Regions from separate parts of the Homo sapiens genome. Here region 1 is linked to region 2. Evidence: promoter capture Hi-C in 16 types of primary human blood cells and fetal thymus (Javierre and others, 2016). All regions are on one chromosome and are shown on one strand. Each heading gives the region's core, a stretch centred on a gene start or on the middle of the fragment in contact. The rest is flanking DNA. Distances are from core to core; before and after follow the strand shown. Region 1 has its middle 39 kb from the start of GLYATL1. Region 2 holds the start of CNTF (ciliary neurotrophic factor).

What was found. Contacts are between HindIII fragments. The CHiCAGO score rates a contact against its expected background, and 5 or more counts as called.
Region 1: a contact is called between a fragment that was not itself captured here and the fragment with the promoter of CNTF in region 2, in 1 of 17 cell types (megakaryocytes). The highest score is 5.2, in megakaryocytes.

What each region holds. Positions count from the first base shown.
Region 1 is chr11:58,897,638-58,903,949 of GRCh38, forward strand. It overlaps a transcript of GLYATL2 not described here. Among named protein-coding and RNA genes, the nearest start is that of GLYATL1, 39 kb to the right of the region's middle. The HindIII fragment of the contact is 1,454 bases long and covers 3,155-4,608 here.
Region 2 is chr11:58,619,588-58,625,273 of GRCh38, forward strand. CNTF (ciliary neurotrophic factor) reads left to right here and starts at 3,078. Exons shown (of 2, transcript NM_000614.4): 1 at 3,078-3,279; 2 at 4,447-5,686. The coding sequence starts at 3,166. The coding sequence ends at 4,935. It overlaps ZFP91 (ZFP91 zinc finger protein, atypical E3 ubiquitin ligase), which reads left to right. Exons shown (of 11, transcript NM_053023.5): 11 at 1-1,963. It overlaps ZFP91-CNTF (ZFP91-CNTF readthrough (NMD candidate)), which reads left to right. Exons shown (of 13, transcript NR_024091.1): 12 at 3,179-3,279; 13 at 4,447-5,686. The HindIII fragment of the contact is 9,454 bases long and covers 1-4,565 here.

The DNA of each region.
Region 1 (6,312 bases), core at 2,632-5,131, 280 kb after region 2:
TAAATCTTGATCTCCCTGTGCCCCCAAACTCATGTGTTATAGGGCCTTGGTAATCCCTTTGTAAGCATATTCCCTGACTTCATAAAAACTATTTATGAAACATATATCTAAGGTAAAACTTTTCATTTCATGCTAGATCAGCACTCTTCTTATTACAGTTACAAACACTGAACTTTTTAGTTGCTTGGAAAATATATTGAAAAGGAATTATTATTCTTGTATAGCCATAGATTATCCCTGGAAAAGTATTGATTGCCTAGAAAATGAGTGAAAATTGTTTCCCCATATACATTTTTTTCTTTTGAAAAGGATATCCTGTATATATTCAAGAGATACTGCTTTTTAAAAGAGGAAATTGCCTCCACTATGGAGTCTTATTAATTCACTTATCCATCAAGTTCTCTTATTAACTTAATTATCCATAATATTCCCTTAGTAATTTTTATTCAATCACTAGTATTTGTTTCTAATGCTCATAATTGAACACAAATTTCTTTACTATTATATAAAATAAAGTACCAGTTATTCTCCATTTTCTCCTGTACCCCAATAAGACGACATCTTCCAATAGATTCATTTCCCTGTTCTGCTGCCTCCTCACATCCAGATGAGTGTGCTAAGTGAGACAAATGTTTTTATTCTTCTACCATTCATCCCCCTGAGACCAATCTCTGGCTGTTTTAGTTCCAGATGGTCAGAATTTCCCTTGCAGTGTGTCTCTTCTATTTAAAGAACCCTTCTTTAAAGCTTTTATTACACTTCCTGGAGAGCCTAACATTGTCCATTTAGAGTTAACTTTCTACATAAAATTGGCCAGATTGTTTTTAACTCACTATTGTTTCCTCTTTTTTTTTTTTTTATCTGCTCTTATCTGAGATCTCTGTTCCTATTTGATTAGTTAAAATTCTTTCTCTAGGCCGGGTGCAGTGACTGACGCCTGTAATCCCAGCACTTTCGGAGACCGAGGCGGGCAGATCACGAAGGTCAGGAGATCGAGACCATCCTGGCTAACACTGGGAAACCCCGCCTCTACTAAAAATACAAAAAATTAGCCGGGCGTTGTGGGATGCCTGTAGTCCCAGTTACTCCGGAGGCTCAGGCAGGAGAATGGCGTGAACCTGGGAGGTGGAGCTTGCAGTGAGCCGAGATCGCGCCACTGCACTTCAACCTGGGCGACAGTGCAAGACTCCATCTTAAAAAAAATAAAATAAAATTCTTTCTCCAATATTTCCTGGATGTAAATATGCTACTGATATAATATGTGAAGACTTTCAAAACCACAAATATATTTATTTGACCCTCAGAAGAATATAATTTCTGCAGCCTTATAAATACGCAAATATTTTTTCTTTTACACTCAGGGGACTGATGCCCTATGAATCCACATTTTAGGATGACCAAATTTAATTTTTTCCATTTTATACATAAGGAAACTGAGGTGCAAAGAAAGAAGGTAACCTTGAACCTTCATTCAAGGTCACAAAGCTAATAAGAAGTGGATGACTAGCGATGAGGGCTTCAGGTTGAGATTAACAACCAACATCACAGGATATAATAGGGTTCAACCCAACTTCAAGTTCATAAAATGAATGGACATTCCCTGATCTTCCCTCCACTCCCACCCCCACCTCAGGGGATTTCAGGATGTACAGGGCAAAGCTGTCTCCCTCCACTCCCAACCGTTTCTCAGTCAGTGTGGGGTGTTAAGAACTCCTCACTGCCCCTCTTGAAGCTTACATTCTGGAGCAGGGAGGCAGAAACTAAACCAAAAATTAAAAAAACAAAAACAGTAAACATATTTCCTATAAACTCAGGTGTAGTATATGAAAAACAACACATGATTTGACGACAGAAGATGATGGAGGGAGAAAGAACAACAAATAAATAGGAAAAGAGGCCTCAGATACGAGCAGACAAAAAGGAGAGGAAACAGGAAGGGGTTAGGACGGGCCTCCACAAAAGACTGGCATTTGACAGACAGCTGCAGAAAGAAGGAACAGAGCCAAGCACATACCAGCGGGTTAGGGTTGCAGTCTGAGAAAGCACTCCAGGAATCACCCAAGATGGTCCACTAGGGTGAACAAAGGACATACTTGAACCAGCATTTAGATTCATCTTCATCTAAAAAATAAGAAATTAAGTGTGCCTAATATTTATTTAACATGTTAATTACAACAGAATATATATATATACACACACATACATATATAGTTGATGCTCAATTTGTTAAAAATTTGGTATGTAAAATTAAAGCTCAGAGATTACTCTTGCGTACGGCAATAAGCTCCTGAAAGGCAAGGATAGATTTCACCCCTCTCTGTATTTTCAGAGTCCATCGAATTGTGTGGAACAAAATAGGTATCAGTAGTATTTTGGGGGGTGGGGGGAGATCGAAACCATGCGGAGCACCGGAATTCTGTGTAAATCATTTAAAAAAACCTCCTCTGCTTTACAGCAGAGTCCCTTTTCTTTTGTATTTTTAGTTGCAACTAGCCCCATGCCTTGTAGATGACCCCTAAGAAATGAATGAGTGAATGAACGCGTGGACAGCAGGATGGATCAGTGAGTGAGGAGCAGTGATTCGCAGGACATGCATGCATTGAAATCCTGACAAAGCAGCCTCTGCAAAATAAGAGACCTTAGGCTTTGGTGTCTGACAGAAGATAAAATTATTCAAGGGCTGTCCTTGGGCAACTTAGTTGAGGTTTCCTAATCTATGAAACAGAAAATGATTAAATAGAAAGACGATTGCGAAAAAACCTATGGAAGGTGCGAAAGCAGGATGCCTGGCATTGAGAGACGCTTCACACCTGTTATCTCTCTCCCTATTCTCTCTCCACTCCTACTCCCGCCCGGCAGCTCCCCGCTGTCAGCACCAGAAATACCCGCTAAGAATACGAAAAGCAACGCTGGCCTTACACCGTGACGCTTTTAAAAACTCTAAAAACCCAGCGTGACGGGGGGTAGGTTTGCCTAAAGACAGGTGAGGCAGCCTTAGTTAACTGAGAAGGTTAATTGACAAAGAGGGTTGAGCCACTATGAGCCGAAGCAACCTTGGACTAACAGGTGTATCTTCAGCCAACACATGTCCCAGCATCTCCCACGCCCATCCCTCCATTTAGCACCCAAAATGCAGCCTCCTAAGAGAATGGGAAGCTTGGGGGGGTGGTCAGCTTTGGCTTTCATGGAAGCTACCATTGGCTTTCATTGATGTCAACCCATTAAGGGAATCTTCGAGTCCAAGAACGGAAGCTACCATTGGCCTTAATCTTCACCTCCCGCTTTTCTTCCCTGCTTCTTTTCTCCTCCCTATTCCAGTAGGTTAGTTCTCTGGCGCCATCAGCTGGCAGCACGCGGGAATATACCAAACGCGGAAACGCGCCTTCGCCTGCCCTGAGTAACTGCAAATCCAGGGCTGAGTGAGGTATTTAAGCGCTTGGCTTGTGTACTCAGGACGGTGCTAAAAGGGGGCTGCCTGCGCGGATCCTTTTCCCACAAGATGCAAGTAAAAAAGCACCGCTGACGCCCTGGGAGGGTCACAGAGAGACAGGCGGGGCGGTTGACCAGCTGAACGGACTCACTTCTAAGAAATGCAAATTACCGAGCCACAGTCCAACCAAAGGTATCAAAACAGGATCTCTACCGATGGAGCTCAGCGATATGTGTTTTGACCAGCTCACAATAAGATTTTCATGCATCATACATTTTGCTTGAGTTTCTCAGGTAGTTATGTTGATGTCCGGATTTGTTAAAAGCTGCAGATTACTGGGCCTCACCCCAGACCTATTGAACTTAAATATATTTGGGTTCCCAGAATCCCCATTAAAACAAACAAACAAACAAACAAAACACCTATCCAAGTGATACGGTTGAACTTTAAAGTAAAGAGAATCACAAACTGGCAGATCTCTTTAATTTATACTTAGGGAATGGAGACTTCCCCCACCCCCACCAAGAGGGAAAGGAATTTGCTCAAGGTCTCCCTGCAAGATCCTAAGAAAACGTGAAGCTCTAAGGTTAAAATCCTACCTGACAGCCTTTCCCTCCCCCAACTAGTCCTGTGACCTCTAGCAAATTATCCTGTCCTAATCTGTGAAATGGGATCAACAGTCACACCTACCTCAATGGGTGACTGTGAACATCAAAAGAGACCAAAATGAGTCAACTACCAAGCACTGCCCCACTGGAGGTAGACATTGAACTAAATCTTGATCACTCTACCCCCCATTCATCTCCGAGTACCACTGTATGAGGATGGAAGTGAAGTCACCCAGCCACATGTTGGTCCCAAACCATGTAAACCTCTACACACAGCTCAGTGAATATTTCTTTACTTGAAGAGAGAGAGAGGCTCCTTGGAGCCTCTGGAGTCTGGAGGTGGATGTTACCATCCCCATGAGTGCATTGTCTTCCTAAGATAGGATGGACTACGGGGTCTATATGGGAAGTGTTAGCTGCCAGTACTTCAAGGCTGGCTCCTAAGCTGTTGCTGGAGGCTTAGAGACCCCATTTCAGCTATCTATCAATAGGGGCAGGTTGTTAGCAGGAGTGAGTGAGGTGAGCCCACTATGAACCCACAGGAGGACAGGAAAAAAACCATCTCATCTAAGCTTTCACATACCCCATTGCAAGCTCCATTATGTGGTGCCCAGGCCCTTATGTCTGACACATCCCCAGAAGCCAATTCTCCTCAGTCCTTCCTGCCACTTCTGCCATTGTACATCCAGACAGTTCCACTCTTTTCTTCTGTCAAACTCCTACTCATCTCTCATCCATCAAGTCCAAATATAAATCTCATTCTCTGTGATATACTCCCAAGGTAGAGGCAGTGGTGCCTTCCTCTGTATTCCCAGAACATGTTGTTTGCAACTCTAAATACAGACATCAGCCTACTGTTAGAGTTTAGAAGCATCTTTTAGGGGTTCATGAAGGAATCCCTTTCCATAAACACTGGCCTTACTCCCTAACTTCACCAGACCTGGCCTTAGTGCTTGATCCATTCCCACCTCACCCGACCATGTGAGGGCTTTTCTTCTTTGTGGGTTTGACTACCACAAAATGACCCAACGACCAGTTACTTGGCCAAAAGTATTCTCATCACATTTATAATAAAATCCAGCCAACAAGATGCTTTCTGCCAAGGGAATGTTCTTTTTCAGGGCAAACACTCTGTCCTCAGGGATGCTGGACAACTTCCACAGCCCCATGTAAGCATTAGCTGAAAGTGAGGCTTCCTTGGTGGCTCAACAGATTCCCTGAGCATCCCTACCCTGTCACTGATATCAAATTGCAGTGGATTGCATCCAAGCTCTCAGACCATAGCTGCAAAAGGAAAATCAAAGCTAGAGCTCTACTCTGGACCTATAGCTCTAGGTAGTTAGTTTCTCTGTGAGGGTCACTTTTATACTTAAGGAAGAAATGGAAGATTGGTACTAAAAATGACGTCAGGTTACTTATTCCAATTGTGTGGTTCAGCTGTTACTCCAATGATGAGCAAATGAAGAGGAATTAGAAGCATAGCTATTCCTAGGCTCAAGGAGCAGGGAAGCTCTGGAATTGGTGTACAGCAGTGCTGCTTGGAGTACCATTACAAAGGGACAAGAGTGGTTCAAGGGGAGGTAAAATACAGGGCACCTAAGACACAGGGAATCTGGGAAACAAGGCAGGATTTTGTATTTATCATTTGCCATGATCTCTCTCTGTGAACTTTCTTCTCCCTTTTAATTTTCCCTGTACTTTAATTATATTTCTCAGGCCTGGTGCAGTGGCTCATATCTGTAACCACAGCACATTGGAAGGCTGAGGCAAGCAGAGCACCTGAGGTCAGGAGTTCGACCCCAGACTTGCCAACATGGTGAAACTCCATCTCTATTAAAAATACAAAAAGTATCCGGGCGTGGTGACAGGCACTTGTAATACCAGCTGCTCAGGAGGCTGAGGCATGAGAATCACCTAAACCCAGGAGGTTGAGCTTACAGTGAACTGAGATTGTAACACTGCACTCCAGCCTGGGCAATAAAACAAGACTCTGTCTCAAAAAACAAAATAAAATAAAATAAAATAATTCTCAGTTAATGGCCAACATTACCATCATAAGTCCTAGTTTCCCTCTCTTTCTCCTTTTGTGTGTCTTTTATTTTGATCTATGCTCTTCTCTCCCAAGTTCAGCCTCTTGCCCCTTCTTAAGGCTCTCTGGGCATTCACCCGCATGTGTTGAGTGTCCACTTCTCTCCTTATTTTTCAGTTGGAGTGGATTAGTATCTCCAAGTCAATATATCAAAAGTAGAATTACTGACACACTCATCACTCCTG
Region 2 (5,686 bases), core at 1,828-4,327:
GAGGCTTACTTTATACCAACTAGTGTCAGCATTTGGGATGCCAGGGAACAGAGAGTGAGACACCTACAATCACCAGTCTCAAATGCGCTATTGTTTCTTTTCAGAGTGTTGCAGATTTGCCATTTCTCCATAATATGGGGATAGAAAATGGAATAAAGATAGAAGGGATGTAGAATATGCTTTCCTGCCAACATGGTTTGGAGTCGACTTTGGTATATTGACTAGATTTGAAAATACAAGATTGATTAGATGAATCTACAAAAAAGTTGTCCTCCTCTCAGGTCCCTTTTACACTTTTTGACTAACTAGCATCTATATTCCACACTTAGCTTTTTTGTCACACTTATCCTTTGTCTCCGTAAATTTCATTTGCAGTGGTTAGTCATCAGATATTTTAGCCACCTACACAAAAGCAAACTGCATTTTTAAAAATCTTTCTGAGATGGGAGAAAATGTATTCTCCTTTCCTATACCGCTCTCCCAACAAAAAAACAACTAGTTAGTTCTACTAATTAGAAACTTGCTGTACTTTTTCTTTTCTTTTAGGGGTCAAGGACCCTCTTTATAGCTACCATTTGCCTACAATAAATTATTGCAGCAGTTTGCAATACTAAAATATTTTTTATAGACTTTATATTTTTCCTTTTGATAAAGGGATGCTGCATAGTAGAGTTGGTGTAATTAAACTATCTCAGCCGTTTCCCTGCTTTCCCTTCTGCTCCATATGCCTCATTGTCCTTCCAGGGAGCTCTTTTAATCTTAAAGTTCTACATTTCATGCTCTTAGTCAAATTCTGTTACCTTTTTAATAACTCTTCCCACTGCATATTTCCATCTTGAATTGGTGGTTCTAAATTCTGAAACTGTAGTTGAGATACAGCTATTTAATATTTCTGGGAGATGTGCATCCCTCTTCTTTGTGGTTGCCCAAGGTTGTTTTGCGTAACTGAGACTCCTTGATATGCTTCAGAGAATTTAGGCAAACACTGGCCATGGCCGTGGGAGTACTGGGAGTAAAATAAAAATATCGAGGTATAGACTAGCATCCACATAGAGCACTTGAACCTCCTTTGTACCTGTTTGGGGAAAAAGTATAATGAGTGTACTACCAATCTAACTAAGATTATTATAGTCTGGTTGTTTGAAATACCATTTTTTTCTCCTTTTGTGTTTTTCCCACTTTCCAATGTACTCAAGAAAATTGAACAAATGTAATGGATCAATTTAAAATATTTTATTTCTTAAAAGCCTTTTTTGCCTGTTGTAATGTGCAGGACCCTTCTCCTTTCATGGGAGAGACAGGTAGTTACCTGAATATAGGTTGAAAAGGTTATGTAAAAAGAAATTATAATAAAAGGGATACTTTGCTTTTCAAATCTTTGTTTTCTCTTATTCTAGGTAAGGCATATTAAAAATAAATATGTAAAGAAGAAAAATAAAAGTTGTCTTCATGGAAGCAACTTGTCTTCCTTGGTTGTACTGAGTTACAGTTATCCTAGGGGTGAAACATGTGATGCTGCTAAGCAAACCAAATGCCCTCAGAACAGGTGTTATGTGGGGCATACTATTGTTTGCTTTTGTTGAGAATCAGGTGGTTAATTTTTGACTGTTCTTGATTTCTAATGCTGAAATGACATGATTCTGTTATTCAGCAAACTTGGAAATCTTGATGTTTTGACAACTGCCTCCTAGGAAAACTGGCCATATGTTAATTAACCTAGTAGATGGAAAATTAAGGATTATGTGAGGTTAATTTTACCCTGATAATGACAAAACCTTGATAGCATTTAATATTAATACTTCTTCTCAAAATTGAATGTTTATATCAAGTACTGATTTTTATTTTAAAAAAGAAAAAACTATAATCCTTCTGCCTTCCAAAAGCCATGCTGTGATAGCTGCCCAGGCTGCTCTGTTACATCTCCCATTTATTGTTTACTTTTATAAATTTGCTTCTAAGATGGTATGTGTTTCAGCTTATTGGCAATATCTATGATATAAATAATGAAAGCTAATTATTTCATTTAGCCCTTACCCAATAAGCATCATTTTCTAAGTTAAATGCAATAGAATGACAACCCTCCAAGTACCTTTTAACTTTTATACTGTCATTTCAAAGCCCAGCTCATTCTCTTATTTTAAGAAGCATGTGGTATGACTGGGTAGGGGAGAAAAAAGGAAAGCATGTTGTCACTTGAGTGAGACTGCTTTAGAAATGTTACCAAGTTAGCGTTGGGTGTTTCCTGTTCTTTGGAAGAGAACAGGCCTAAACAGTACCTTCCTCCTCCTATGTAGCTACCAGGAAGGCACCGTGATTGAAATTAGAGATGCTTCCTTGCTTGATTTTTAAGTATAAATTAAATTACCTTTAAAAAGTACGTAAGGTTAGGAGTGAAAAAAATCCTGTTTTTAAAGGACTTCACACACCCTTTGTTTCTTGAACAAGATGTGAACTACCTAAACAGAAAATGAAATTGGAAAGTCAGTGGGAGAGACAACTATAGAATCAGACTTCTATTTAAATTCAAGCCTCGTTACTTGATTTTGTGCATGTTATTTCTTGAAGTTTCAGTTTCTTATATGGAGAAATAACATTTACCTCAGAAATATTCTGAAGATCAAATGGAATTGCTTTAAAGTATTTAGCTTACTGACTGACCCATGGTAGATACTTAATAAATGGCAGCTGTGTCAATAACAATTTTATTGAATGAACATTTCGCCAGCCTATGAGAAAAAAGACATGGGAAGCATAAGGGAGAATGATAATAAAATGAACTAATTCTAAGTGTGTGAGATAGATTACATTAGGCAGGGGTGCCATGAGGATTGGTATGATAGTGACCTTGTTGCTAAGTGCAAAAGCAAAACAATGACATAGAAACAAGTGTGCTAAGTACTGAGTGGAGGAGAGAGATGGAGGCAGACGCTGCAGGGGAAAAAAAATCTGATTAAAAAGGGCCCTTTGATTCCACAGGCACAAAAATCCACAGCCAGGAATTTGCTACCTCCTCTGAGTCAGGCAGGGCGTGGGGGTGGGGTGCACAATCCCATTAGTAGAGAATGCCCAGTGGGTTTAGTCTTTGAGAGTCACATCTCTTATTTGGACCAGTATAGACAGAAGTAAACCCAGCTGACTTGTTTCCTGGGACAGTTGAGTTAAGGGATGGCTTTCACAGAGCATTCACCGCTGACCCCTCACCGTCGGGACCTCTGTAGCCGCTCTATCTGGCTAGCAAGGAAGATTCGTTCAGACCTGACTGCTCTTACGGAATCCTATGTAAGTTGCCTATTTTGCTGTTATCTGTTTTCCCTTCATCTTTTTTGATCCAGCAACTTACCATCACGCATCAGCTCCATTACCAATTGTGAAAGCTCTAATCATATAGTCATTCATATAGGTTATTTGACATGGGCCCTTCCCTTGAGGAAACCCATGTGACTTTATTTTCTTCCTCTGGGCTGTTTAGGAGATGAAGTTACTTGAATGAGAAAATATATATGGAGTTCTAGAAAGGATTGGTTTATATGTCTTGGAGGCTATTCCAAATTTATTGGCATATATTCTGAATACTACTAGAACAGATTAGCCATGGGCCCTCTGGGTTCTTCATAGCCATTGTTCTGAATTTTTTAGCTATGTAAATGAAAGGTTTATGGGATAGGAAGAGTACTATGAACGTGGGAGGAATTTGTAAATCCTACCAATTTCTCCTATATAGCATTAGCCACCCACCTTTTAGTATTCTGCATCAAAAGTAGATTGTGTCTAAAGAGAAAGGTAAGCTATCAAAAGGATCTCCTAGAAGATTCATTGGAAACTTGTGGAAGTGTCAAATTCTTGAGCTAATTCTGGAGTTCCAGATTTGTCTTCTAACAGTAAGGGGATCCCCATCAATTTCCACCTGAGATATGCTGTGGAAATACTCCAACCCCTGTGGAGAGTTTTGAATTTAGGCTGAGAACTGATTTATCTTTGTACAGCCTCACCAGACAGAAATCAGACTCTTTGGGAGTGCTCAATGGGGAGAGGGAAGTTAGAGAAATTCTACAATGGCTATATTCCAAGTTTTCCTAGTTGTGGCCAGTGTCTTTTACAAGTATGTTTAAAAATACTTTAATATGATTAAAATATTCCAGTTAATGAGAGAGTTTGAAGTGAGAAGGAAAAATTCTTCTAAATCAGTTTTCAACCTTTAGAACTCAATAAAATCTGAACATTCTTCTAAGAAAAATCCATAGGTAGTCAATTTCAGGCAGTATTGGGTCTTTCTAAAGTCCAGTCATAGAGCCCAAATTAAGAGTTCCTACTGTAGACATATTATTTACTTTACAACTTGGATCCTTGGCCAGAGAGATGAGTGAGATTTTGTATGAAATTTAGGGGTGATTTAAGGACACTGGGGTGATGACAGAAGATGTGGTGTTTTCCTGTATCCTCGGCCAGGTGAAGCATCAGGGCCTGAACAAGAACATCAACCTGGACTCTGCGGATGGGATGCCAGTGGCAAGCACTGATCAGTGGAGTGAGCTGACCGAGGCAGAGCGACTCCAAGAGAACCTTCAAGCTTATCGTACCTTCCATGTTTTGTTGGCCAGGCTCTTAGAAGACCAGCAGGTGCATTTTACCCCAACCGAAGGTGACTTCCATCAAGCTATACATACCCTTCTTCTCCAAGTCGCTGCCTTTGCATACCAGATAGAGGAGTTAATGATACTCCTGGAATACAAGATCCCCCGCAATGAGGCTGATGGGATGCCTATTAATGTTGGAGATGGTGGTCTCTTTGAGAAGAAGCTGTGGGGCCTAAAGGTGCTGCAGGAGCTTTCACAGTGGACAGTAAGGTCCATCCATGACCTTCGTTTCATTTCTTCTCATCAGACTGGGATCCCAGCACGTGGGAGCCATTATATTGCTAACAACAAGAAAATGTAGCAGTTAGTCCCTTCTCTCTTCCTTGCTTTCTCTTCTAATGGAATATGCGTAGTTCCCTGGGGCCTCGCTTTCCCATCTTAAATTTCTAAAAACAGTTAAGACAACAGGCATTTTCTTTCTTTTTTCTCTGACCACCTGCAGCCTGTTGAAGGACTACAGGTATTTTCATCAAGTAGCGTTGGAGACATACACAAATGGGCATACAAGTTTAGCCTGGGGGGTGTGATTTGTGTGCGTGCTTGCATGTGCTGCAGGTGTAAGAGAGTGGGAGCAGGGACAACGTCCTTCCACTTCAGGGTTCTAACCTTTCTAACCCACTAAGTAACCTCTACAGGCATTTAACTGCCTTACAGACAGAATATACATATGTTAATTCTAGTCCTGGATGACTCGGTCTGAGAAGATTCAATTTAAAATCAGACTCTTTAGTTGATTTAAACTCTTAGAGAATAAGAATAATAATGGCTAACTTTTATTATCTTCTATATTAAGGCAGTATGCCAAGGGTCTTTATGTATATTATGTACAGCGTTTACAACCTTGTGAGCAAGGTGGTGTTACTCCCATTAGGTAGATGAGAAAACAGGCTCACAGAGATTTGGTTAAGCTCACACAGCTAACAAGTAGCACACTGAGTTTGAACACAGATCATTCTCCTTGTAAAAGCCTATGTGCCTTTCACTTTAGAGGCTTGATCATGAATCACTGCACCTCTTTGTCACAGGGTGTTGGAAGATGCATCCATGTAATC